Regions from separate parts of the Homo sapiens genome. Here region 1 is linked to region 2. Evidence: promoter capture Hi-C in 16 types of primary human blood cells and fetal thymus (Javierre and others, 2016). All regions are on one chromosome and are shown on one strand. The core of a region is centred on a gene start or on the middle of the fragment in contact, and the rest is flanking DNA. Distances in the headings are between cores, read along the strand shown. Region 1 has its middle 35 kb from the start of BOLA3. Region 2 holds the start of DGUOK-AS1 (DGUOK antisense RNA 1).

Evidence for each region. The method cuts DNA at HindIII sites, captures the fragments that hold promoters and counts their contacts. A CHiCAGO score of 5 or more calls a contact.
Region 1: a fragment that was not itself captured here is called in contact with the fragment with the promoter of DGUOK-AS1 in region 2 in 1 of 17 cell types (erythroblasts); the score reaches 5.1 in erythroblasts.

What each region holds. Positions count from the first base shown.
Region 1 is chr2:74,109,807-74,115,407 of GRCh38, reverse strand. It overlaps a transcript of TET3 not described here. Among named protein-coding and RNA genes, the nearest start is that of BOLA3, 35 kb to the left of the region's middle. The HindIII fragment of the contact is 659 bases long and covers 3,516-4,174 here.
Region 2 is chr2:73,977,817-73,982,815 of GRCh38, reverse strand. It overlaps DGUOK-AS1 (DGUOK antisense RNA 1), which reads left to right and starts at 1,377. Exons shown (of 2, transcript NR_104030.1): 1 at 1,377-1,681. The HindIII fragment of the contact is 8,489 bases long and covers 1-3,018 here.

The sequences.
Region 1 (5,601 bases), core at 2,596-5,095, 130 kb before region 2:
TAATGTCCGTTATACCTCTCTATATTCCTTTTTATCCCGTGGCTTAGCTCCTGCTTATAAGTGAGAACATGTGGTATTTGGTTTTCTGTTCCTGAGAAACTTAGGATAATCATTTGCCCATTTTTAAATAGCATTGTTTCGTTTTTTTGCTGTTGAGATGTTTGAGTTCCTTGTATATTCTGGATATTCGTTCCCTATTGAATGAGTTGTTTGCAAATCCTTTCTCCCATTCTGTAGATTGCCTTTTTACTCTGCTGATTGTTTCAACTTTACTGTGCAGAAGCTTTTAGTATGATATAATCTCAGTTGCTTATTTTTGCTTTTTATTGCCTGTGCTTTTGAGGTCTTATTCATAAAATATTTTCCTAGACCAATGTCCTGAAGCATTTCCCCTGTGTTTTCTTCTAGTAGTTTTATTGTTTGGGGCCTTACATTTAGGTCTTTGGTCCATTTTGAGTTGATTTTTTGTATAGGGTGAGAAGTGGGATTCTAGTTTTCTTCTTCGCATATAGATAACCAGTTTTCCCAGCATCTTTTTTTTTTTTTTTTTTTTTGAGACAGAGTCTCTCTCTGTCACCCAGGCTGGAGTGCAGTGGTGTGATCTTAGCTCACTGCAATCTCCACCTCCTGGGTTCAAACGATTTTCCTGCCTCAGCCTCCTGAGTAGCTGGGATTACAGGCACCTGCCACCACACCCAGCCAATTTTTTGTATTTTCAGTAGAGACGGGGGTTTCACCATGTTGGCCAGGCTGGTCTTGAACTCCTGACCTCAAGTCATCTACCTGCCTCGGTCTCCCAGAGTGCTGGGATTACAGACGTGAGCCACCATGCCCAGCCTGCTTTTTTAACTTTTAAGAGATTTAATTTTATTGTGGTAAAATATACAGAACATAAAATTTATGATTTTAAGTGTACAATTCAATGGCATTAAGTGTATTCACATTGTTTATTTCAATAATTTTTGGCATACAGGTGGTTTTTGGTTACATGGATAAGTTCTTTAGTGGTGATTTCTGAGATTTTAGTGCACCTATCACCCAAGCTGTGTACACTGTACCCAATATGTAGTATTTTATCCCTTATCCTCCTTCCAGCCCTCCCCCCCGAGTCCCCAAGGTCCATTATATCACTTTTATGCCTTTCTGTCCTCATAGCTTAGCTCCCACTTATAAGCCAGCACCATTTGTTCAAAAGATTGTCCTTTCCCCAGTGAGTATTCTTGGCATCTTTGCCAACAATCAGTTGTCTGTAAGTATGTGGATTAGTTTCTGGGTTCTCTATTCTGTTCCATTAGTCTTTGTGTCTATTTTTATGCCAGTACCATGCTGTTTTGGTTATTACAGTTTTTTAGTATATTTTGAGGCCTGATAGTGTGATACCTCCAGATTTGTTCTTTTTGCTCAGGATTGCTTTGGCTATTTGAGGTCTCTTGTAGTTTCATACAAATTTTAGGATTTTTTTTTCTATTTCTGTGAAGAATGTCATTGGTATTTTGATAGGGATTGCATTAAATATGTAGCTTGCTTTGGGTAGTATTATTATGTTAATAATATGAATTTTTCCAAATCTGCGAGCATGGGATGTCTTTCCATTTGTTTGTATCCTCTTCAATATCTTTCATCAGTGTTTTGTAGTTTTCCTTGTAGACATCTTTCACCTCCTTGGTTAAATTTATTCTTAGGTATTTTATTTTATTTTTTGGTAGCTACTGTAAATGGGATTGCTTTCTTGATTTCTTTTTCAGCTAAGTTTGTTGTACATGTATGGAAATAACTGCTGATTTGTGTATGTAATTTTTTTTTTTATCCTGCAACTTTACTGAATTTATCAGTTTTAAGAGTTCTTTGGTAGAGTCTTTAGGTTTTTATATATATGTGATCCTGTCATCTACAAACAGGGACAATTTGACTTCCTCCTTTTCCATTTGGATGCCTTTTATTTCAAGTTCTTGCCTAATTGCTCTGGGTAGGACTTCTAGTACTACGTTGAATAAGAGTAATGAGAGTGGACATTCTTTTTTTTTGACGGAGTCTCACACTGTCACCCAGGCTGGAGTACAGTGGCGTGATCTCCGCTTACTGCAACCTCCACGTCCCGGGTTCAAGTGATTCTCCTGCCTCAGCCTCCCGAGTAGCTGGGATTAGAGGCATGTGCCACCATGCCCGGCTAATTTTTTGTATTTTTAGTAGAGACAGGGTTTCACCATGTTGGCCAGGCTGGTCTCGAACTACCTCGTGATCTGCCTGCCTCGGCCTCCCAAAGTGCTGGGATTATAGGTGTGAGCCACTGCGCCTGGCCATTCTTGTCTTGTTCCAGTTCTCAGAGGAAAAGCTTTCAGCTTTTCTCCATTCAGTAAGATGTTAACTGTGGGTTTTTTTTTTTTTTTTTTTTTTTTTTTTTGAGACGGAGTCTCACTCTGTAGCCCAGGCTGGAGTGCAGTGGTGAGATTTGCACTCACTGCAACTTCTGCCTCTCGGGTCCCATATCAAGCAGTTCTCCTGCCTCAGCCTCTCGAGTAGCTGGGATTACAGGAACGCACCACCTTGCCCAGCTAATTTTTGTATTTTTGGTAGAGACGGGCTTTCACCGTGTTGGCCAGGCTGGTCTTGAACTTCTGACCTCATGATCCATCCACCTCAGCCTCCCAAAGTGCTGGAATTATAGGCGTGAGCCACTGCACCCAGCCTGCTGTGGGTATTTTTAATCTTTTTGAAAGTAGATTGTAGTCACTGTCTAATCTCTTGTATTTCTTGCAAAGCACTCATTACTAGTCTTTGAGTTCTTAATATTTGTTTTTTAAAATAATTTTAAAAAATTTTATACCCTTAGATCTGCATATTGTTTTTTATGTAGTAAAACTTTTTATTTGGCTTTAGATAACTTGGTTAACTTGGTTTCCTGTTTATTTACTTCCTTGAGTATAATTTTGCTGATGTTTTGGTTCTTATTGATAATTTTCTTTATTTGGAGCGGTTTTATAGTTTATGTAAATGTTTTAATGGATTTCAAAAGGAGTTAGTTTCTTACAGATACTTTAAAAGCAAATAAGTAAATAAAAGGAGTGGGTTCTTGGTGGTATTACTGGCATTACCATCAGAAGACCCTTCATATTTGAGAGGCCACATGGGGAGGTGCACCAAGGAGATAATCAGATAAAAGACACCAAATGGCCTGCAGTGTTACTAAAGATGCAAGCTGGGGCCAAGTCCTGTGGGGCCCTGCGGCAAAGTTAAAATGTGTCTTATCCTGAGAGCTGTATCAAATGGGGAGTATCGAGGAGTATTACAGGGAAATAGTATCATCTGATTTGGTTTTTAGAAAGATTATCTGAGTAAGGAGATTGGCTTTGGTAAGCTGGGCAGGGAGATCAAATGGGGGCTAGAATTGAAGTCTTTCAAATAACAATACCTGTTGAAGATGCTCTGAAGAGCCAAAGTCTTCCTGTGGAGCCACTTTGTTGCAACCTGTGCCTCTTGTGCCCATAGACCCACAGACTCAGGTCATGCCCTAAGCTTTAGGTAGGTAGATTCCCACCAGTGAGGACAATGTCCCTTGGGTTTGTGGGTCTTAAGGTACAGAAGAAACAGGGGTATATTTGGATAGGGCACAAACTTTGGCACCAAATACACCTGGGTTGATTCTGGGCTCTGCCATTTCCTAGCTGGATGGTCTTGAGCAAGCCATTCAACCTTTCTGAAGGGTCTCACATTTAGACCAAGATATGAGAGGCCTCTGCCCTGGGTCCCCAGCTTTAGAGGGCTATACTGTGGTCCTTGTCCAACATGCCTCTGTCCATATCAGGGAGGAGTCCATATCTGTAATTAAGGCTTACACATGGTAGTCTGTATGAATGGTGTTCCCCAGAGTTGTGCAGTGCATAGCCTGTATGACTGTACAATGTGGGTTGCTAATAAAAGTAGCAAAGAGAAGCAGGATTGAGAATGCTGAGGATGTAGAATCTAGACTTGGCAGGTGTCAGGATATGACTGGGAGAATAGGAAATTTGGTGGAGAGTTGAGAGGTCAGTTTTGGTTAAGACTTTGACCTTACCAAAGAGCCACCCAGAGCTATCCAGCAGCCCAAACTCATGAGGCTAGACATGGCTTTGGAAATCATTGGCATTAGGGTCATAGTTGAGGCCTGGTGGCTGAACAAGTCCTTTGAAGGAAAGCTTATAGTCTGTGGAGAAGACTGAGTCGATTCTTTTGGGGGCATTTGTGTTTAAAGGACAAGAGGTCACAAAGGGGCTCATGAAAGGGGGCAGGGTCCTGGGACAATGGAATGTTCCTGGCTATGCAGTCCGGGAGCAGAGGGTTTCCAGGGCTTCACAGAGGTCAGTGAGGATGAGGATCCCTGGCTCAGAAGCTGACTATTTCTGGAGAAATAAAGGTACAGGTGAGTGAGTGGTATGGACCTTCAAGCTAGGAGGTTGTCTACACCTGCAGATATGTGGTGGTGATAGGAAGGAGTGGGAAAGGTCTATGAGGCACAGCAGGGTCAGGCTGGGGTGAACCTGAGAGCACGTGATGGGGAGAAGCCACAGAAAAGGGTTAATGGATGAAGCATGTTCCACAGGAGCAGCACAGGGTGCACATGGAGAGTGAGAGTCAGGGGTACCGAGCAGCAGGGGTGTGTGTACAGTAAAGAGGACAAACATACAGGAAGATGGTTTGAAGTGTGGTGAGGGAAATTGGGCAGGCTCCCTGGGCCTGGGGTTGGGCTTCTCAGTAGAGGAAAGCAGGCCTCTGCTAAGACCTCTGGAGTGGGGATGAGGTGCTGGGGGGTATCTAGAATTTAACAAAGCTTTGTCTTTCACGTCTTCTATGTTGTGTTCATGGCTCTGACAAGAATGTACACTGGATTATGTGTGTCGAACATGTTTTTAGGGCTTCATGTCCCCTTGCAGGGACATGATGTATGTATGGATGCACCATCCCATGGACATGGGACGTTGAATGCCCATTATTTTCAGAGTACAATGGGAGACAAAGATGACTAACAGCTCTCCAAGCTTAAGAAGCTTACAAGAGCATCAGAACACACAACAAAGTTGCTGACCAAGTTGTGTAGCTGGGTTGGGTAAACCAATATTTGACAAAATTAAGATTCAAAATAGGCAGGGAGAGTGGGTTAAACAGTTCATTTAAGATGGCTACATTTCAACTGCTGTGTGAAGCATTAAAAAAAAAAATTGCACGCAGACTTGAGTTAGTGGACCTGATTTGGCAAAAGTTCACTGAAGAGGTCACTATGTGGTCCCAAGACTAGTCTTGGATTCCTTAGTGATCTAAAGCTTTGCATATGTCAAGAGTAATAATGATAGCTCTTATTACTTGCTATGTCCCGAATGCCTGGCACTTTCACTTCTGTAGCAATTTTTTTATCCTTATATCTTATGTGGTATCATTAGCCTGTCTTATTGACAAAATGACACAGGGAGATGAAACCCTCATCAAATCACACAATTGGGAAGTGAGGGATCTATGTTCTTTCCAAGCCACAAGCCGCTGCTTAAAAAGCTAATAAACCTTGGTGTACACTCATAAAAATAGTGTGTCCAGATCGTGGGGCTCCTTGGTGTCTTTGTGCTTGGCTTGCAT
Region 2 (4,999 bases), core at 128-2,627:
TTCTGTCTGGGTAAATGGCACCAGCAAGTTACTGTGTCATTTACTCTTTGCCAGCAATCTATGAGAGGGTCATTTCATAAAGCCCTCTCGTTTAGGTAACTGGGTGAATGCTGGTGCCATTCACTGTGACAAAATGCAGAAGGAAGGATGCCTGGGGATGGAGACATTCGTGTGAAAGTGAGTGTGCAACTGAGGGGGTGAGGCCTGGGTTTGAGATTTGGGCCCCATCAGTGAGCAGACAGCGAGGCCTCAGTTGTGGAGGAGCTCATCCAGGGTGGATATGGAGTGTGAGAGGGAAAGGCTGCCAGGACAGAGCCCCAGGGAATACCAGCCCATGAGGGACAGGAGCTGAGAAGGCGCCGCCAGAGAGGTTGGAGGGAACCCAGCCAGGCTAGAGAGCTGCCTGTCATATCTTCCCGGCCTCTGGAACCTTACACTTCGGCAGTCCTGTTGCTCATTCCTTCTGCCTGGGGAAAAACCCTTCCCACCCCACCCCTTCTCAGCTACCCCTTGTACCTGCCAAATTCCCACTCATCCTGCAAGTCATAAGTGCCAGTTCCATGAAACCTCCAGCTGCTCAGATGATTCCAGAGCCCCACCCACTCTCCCTCCACAGAAGTTTGACTCTCCCTGCCTAGGAACAGTTATCTCATCGGCGCTGGGCACTGGAATGGTTTGCATGTTTCTTTCCCAGTTACTACAAACTCCTGGAAGGGTAGCACGCTGTCTTTCACCTCATAACCCTAGACCTAGCAACCAACCACTGTGTTGAATGAAGAGACGAGGTGAGTAGACCCTAATGAATGACAGACCCCAGTAACACTGAAGACCCATAGGCTTCTTTCCTGCTTTCTTTACGACTTGCACAAACTGGTCAGGGGCGCCCAAGATAAAACAGCCTAAACTCCTCAGGTCCTGCCTTCTGGTTCTCCAGCCTCCTGGGCTGCTGCGGCTATTCCCATTCACATTGCGCTCAGGGCAGGAGAGCAGCGGGGGTGGGCGTAGGGATAGGGCGAGCCCTTCCTGGGGCTGCATTAGCCTAGACGCAGTGGTTCCGCCAAGAGAGCCCCGGCACCAGCAGCATCACCATCTCCTGGGAACTGGCTAGAAATGCAAGCTCTCGGCCCCATCCTAACCCCACTGAATCAGAAACCCTGGGGGCGGGCCCAGCAATCTGTTTTAATTAGTCCGTCAGGTGAAGTCAAGTTAGAGCAGCACTGGACTACAGCAAGCGGGGGAGAAGGAAGTTCAGCACCCAGGTGGAGACTGCGATTAGGCCCCCAAGGCGCTTAGAGCAGACAGAGGGAGAGAGGCTCCTTTTAGGAGCGGGTTTGGCGGGCGCCACCCCAAGCGGCCAAGGGCGGAGCCTCTTTTAGGCGACTGCTCCCGCGAGGTCAGAGCCGGGCTGTGCCGCTGCCCCCGGGACTAGAAAGGGAAATCTCCTTGCTAGAGGAGGAAGCCCTAAGAACTCAAGGGAGATAGGGGTGGCAGGGGCATTTCCCTGGATGCCTGGAGCATGGAGGGTGCGAAATAAGGAGGCTTTCCTACCCCATTGATGAGCTGAAGTTGATTCCGCACGGGGGAGGAAAGGGACAGGAAGCATAATTGGATGTGCAAGCCTGTGGTTCTTCAGGAAGTTAACACGTGGAACTAACACTGTTGGATGCTGCTGAACTCTCAGGTGATTGATGTGACTAACCTCCTCAGGTACTTGACCTCTCTCCTCTTCAGCTAATGAGTAATTTGTCCTTATTTAAGAATGAGATTTGCGTATGGGGACCTTTTGCAGAAATGTAAATACATCCCGATATCCATACCTGGGCTTGGTTTTAAAGACTGAAGGTATTGGGAGGTTTATTTGATTTTGGATGTATTACTTCTTTGGTCATGTATTGGCTAAAAATATTATCAACTAATATTTGCATAGATCTTTCCCTTTTCAAAGCACTTCCACACACATTATCCTTCTGTCTGCACAGAGTGGCAAATACAACAAATGTGCAAATGTTAACTTTCCTTATCTATGACATAGTTTTTATTATCATCACCATTTTACAGATAAGAGAACTGGCGCTCAGTGAGGTAATTTGTCCAAGGTCATTCACTACTACATGTCAGAATCCAGGACCTACAATCCAGGACCTCTGAAATTAGCCCACGAATGCTAGAGCTGATACCAGGCAGAAGCTGGCATTTTGCTCTCAGGGAAAGGGAGGTTCATTAGTGGGTTGCTTGTGGACCTGCATTGGTGAGTGTGACACGTGTAGGATATCTATGCTATGCGTTTTTGGGTTTTTTGTTTTGTTTTGGTTTTGGGTTTTGGTTTTTTTTTTTTCTTTGAGATGGAGTCTCACTCTTGTCACCCAGGCTGAAGTGCAGTGGCGCGATCTGGGCTCACTGTAACCTCTGCTGCCCAGGTTCAAATGATTCTCCTGCCTCAGACTCTCGAGTAGCTGGGATTACAGGCACCTGCCACCGCGCCCAGCTAATTTTTGTAGTTTTAGTAGAGACTGGTCTTGAACTCCTGACCTCATGATCCACCCACCTCGACCTCCCAAACTGCTGGGATTACATGAGTGAGCCACCGCGCCCGGCTACTACGTTTTTCAATAGCCCCGCAAATGTCCTCATGTTTTATAACTAGTTTTGTGACTGCATTTTGAATTTTTTGAATCAAATAGGCTTCATTACTTGCAAGGAGAATGCAAGGGTACCCATCATAATGGAAGGAATACCCAACAGGGATAAAGGCCTTGGTGCCCCTGAGCCTTGGTTGACAGGGTGTATCAGTCAGGATCAGTTAGATTGTGCTGGAGTAATAGACAATCCCCAAATCACAGTGGCTTTACATAACAAAAGTGTATTTCTCAATCACAAAACGTGTCCATTATGAGTCATTAGGAGCTCTGTTTCCCGTAATCACTCGGGCATCCAGGCTGCTGCAACTGGACATGCATCTCCTCAACCCTGAAGGCAGGAAACAAGAATGGGGCAAATCTAGCACTGGCTCTTAAAGCTTTTCCCTGGAAGTGACACACATCACTCCTGCTGTCATCTCACTGGCCAAAGAAAGTTACAAGGGGGCAGGGAAGTGCAATAAGTACAATCCTGCTATGTGCAGGAAGGATAAGCAGAAGTATTTGGTTAACAGCACTAACACACAGGGAGTGTGTGTGAGTGTGTGAATGTATATGTGTATATTTGAGGTATGTGCAATTACACATACTGCCCATTTCCAGAGCATTCCTCCCTCCTGGCGACACATATTAGAGATTCCTAGTGTAAAGGACTGTCTTACCTTGCACTAGAGCAGGTTCAGAGATTTAAACTAAAGCGAAAAAAAATAAGAGTTGAAGGAAACATAGTAGAAGAGGTGAGTGGCTGTGGGACAAACTCAGTAGAAATTCGTTTGTAAATAGAGAAAGAAATCCAGGAAAGGAAGGTACTCAGGGTGTATGACACAAGGAGCCTGCCTACTAAAGGAAACTTCTAAAACAGCGTAGCTTTAGCAGAGGCGTTTCCTGCCGCCTTGCCATTAACTCCCACTCATCCTTCCTGGTTAAACTCAGGTGACGCTTCAGGAAGCCTTTGATGATCTCTCAAGATTGGGTAAGGGGCCCACCAATCAGATCACAGGTATGCCTGGGTCTGTCCCATCCCCTCAGCTGTGGACAGGACCACATCTTACTCAGTGCCAGCTGCTATATAGAGAATACATTAGAGGAGGGTGTCAGAATAGAGGCAGAGAGAGCAGCTAGAAGGCTGTTGCAGAAACCTAAGTGAGAAAACAAAAATGATGGTCTCCATTAGGGTAGTGGTGGTGGGGAGGGAGAGAGGTATCAAGAAAGATTTACGAAGTCAAACCCACAGGACGAGGGCATAGGAAGGGAGGTTTCTGGAAGAACAACAGGGTAGTTGGTAGTGCCAGGGGGCCCAGAGAAGGTGGAAGTTGATCAATGAGGTCAGCAAGAACACATCCCATTTGAGGTCCATTTTGACAGCGCCCACAGAGAGACCCAGGAGCAGCCCCTGTCACAGCCTGAGATTCCGGGGGGGGGGAGGGGGGCGGTGGAAACCAGGTCCTATGAGCTGCCTCTTGGTTAAACTCTAACATCGAATCAAGGTTAGTATTTTCTTGTTTAAAAAAATATCAAGCCGGGCCTGGTGGCTCACGCCTGTAATCCCAGCACTTTGAGAGGCCAAGGCAGTCGAATCACTTGAGCTCAGGAGTTCAAAACCAGCTTGGGCAATATAGTGAGACCTCAACTTTACAAAAAAATTAGCCAGGTGCAGTGGTGCACACTTTGAGGTGAGAGGATCACTTGAGCCCGGGAGGTTGAGGCTTCAGTGAGCCAAAATTGTGCCATTGCACTCCAGCCTGGGCAATGGAGTGAGACCCTGTCTCAAAAAAAAAAAAAAAAAAAAAAGTATGTGTGTTGGGGGAGCGGGAAACACAGAAAATACATATAGTATAAAAGTGGTGAAATTCCTGAACTACACATCATAGGAATCCATTCAGAACAGTGCTTTATAGAAAGAGCAGAGCATCCCTGAAAGATTGGTTCAACTTCAATTGGCTTGTCCCCTGATCTTGTTTCCATGTGTTGTTTCTGTCCCATCTCCTGCTAAGTAGGAGCCTGCTTGTCCCATTTGAGACTTGAAGATGATATCAACCCCTTTCACCTTCGAGGCTTCCCTTCCTCATGGCCTTTTGTGGGTGAGGATTGAGTCCCATTTGTAGGTACTTGACAGTGCTGGGGCACCCATCCTCAGAGACCCTGTTCTTCCCACTTGGATGTAGTGCTCCCCTATCCCCCACGATATCTTCCCCCTTCCCCATGCACTGAGATGCTCCCGCTGGTTCCTCGAGTTCCATTTTCAGCTCCTGTGTGTACCAGTTTTTGGCTGCAGGTGAGGTAACTCCCCCCTCCTGGCCTCCTTCCAATCTCTAAAGATGGGACTCATGATACCTCCTAAGCAGACTCCTTTGCAGAGGATC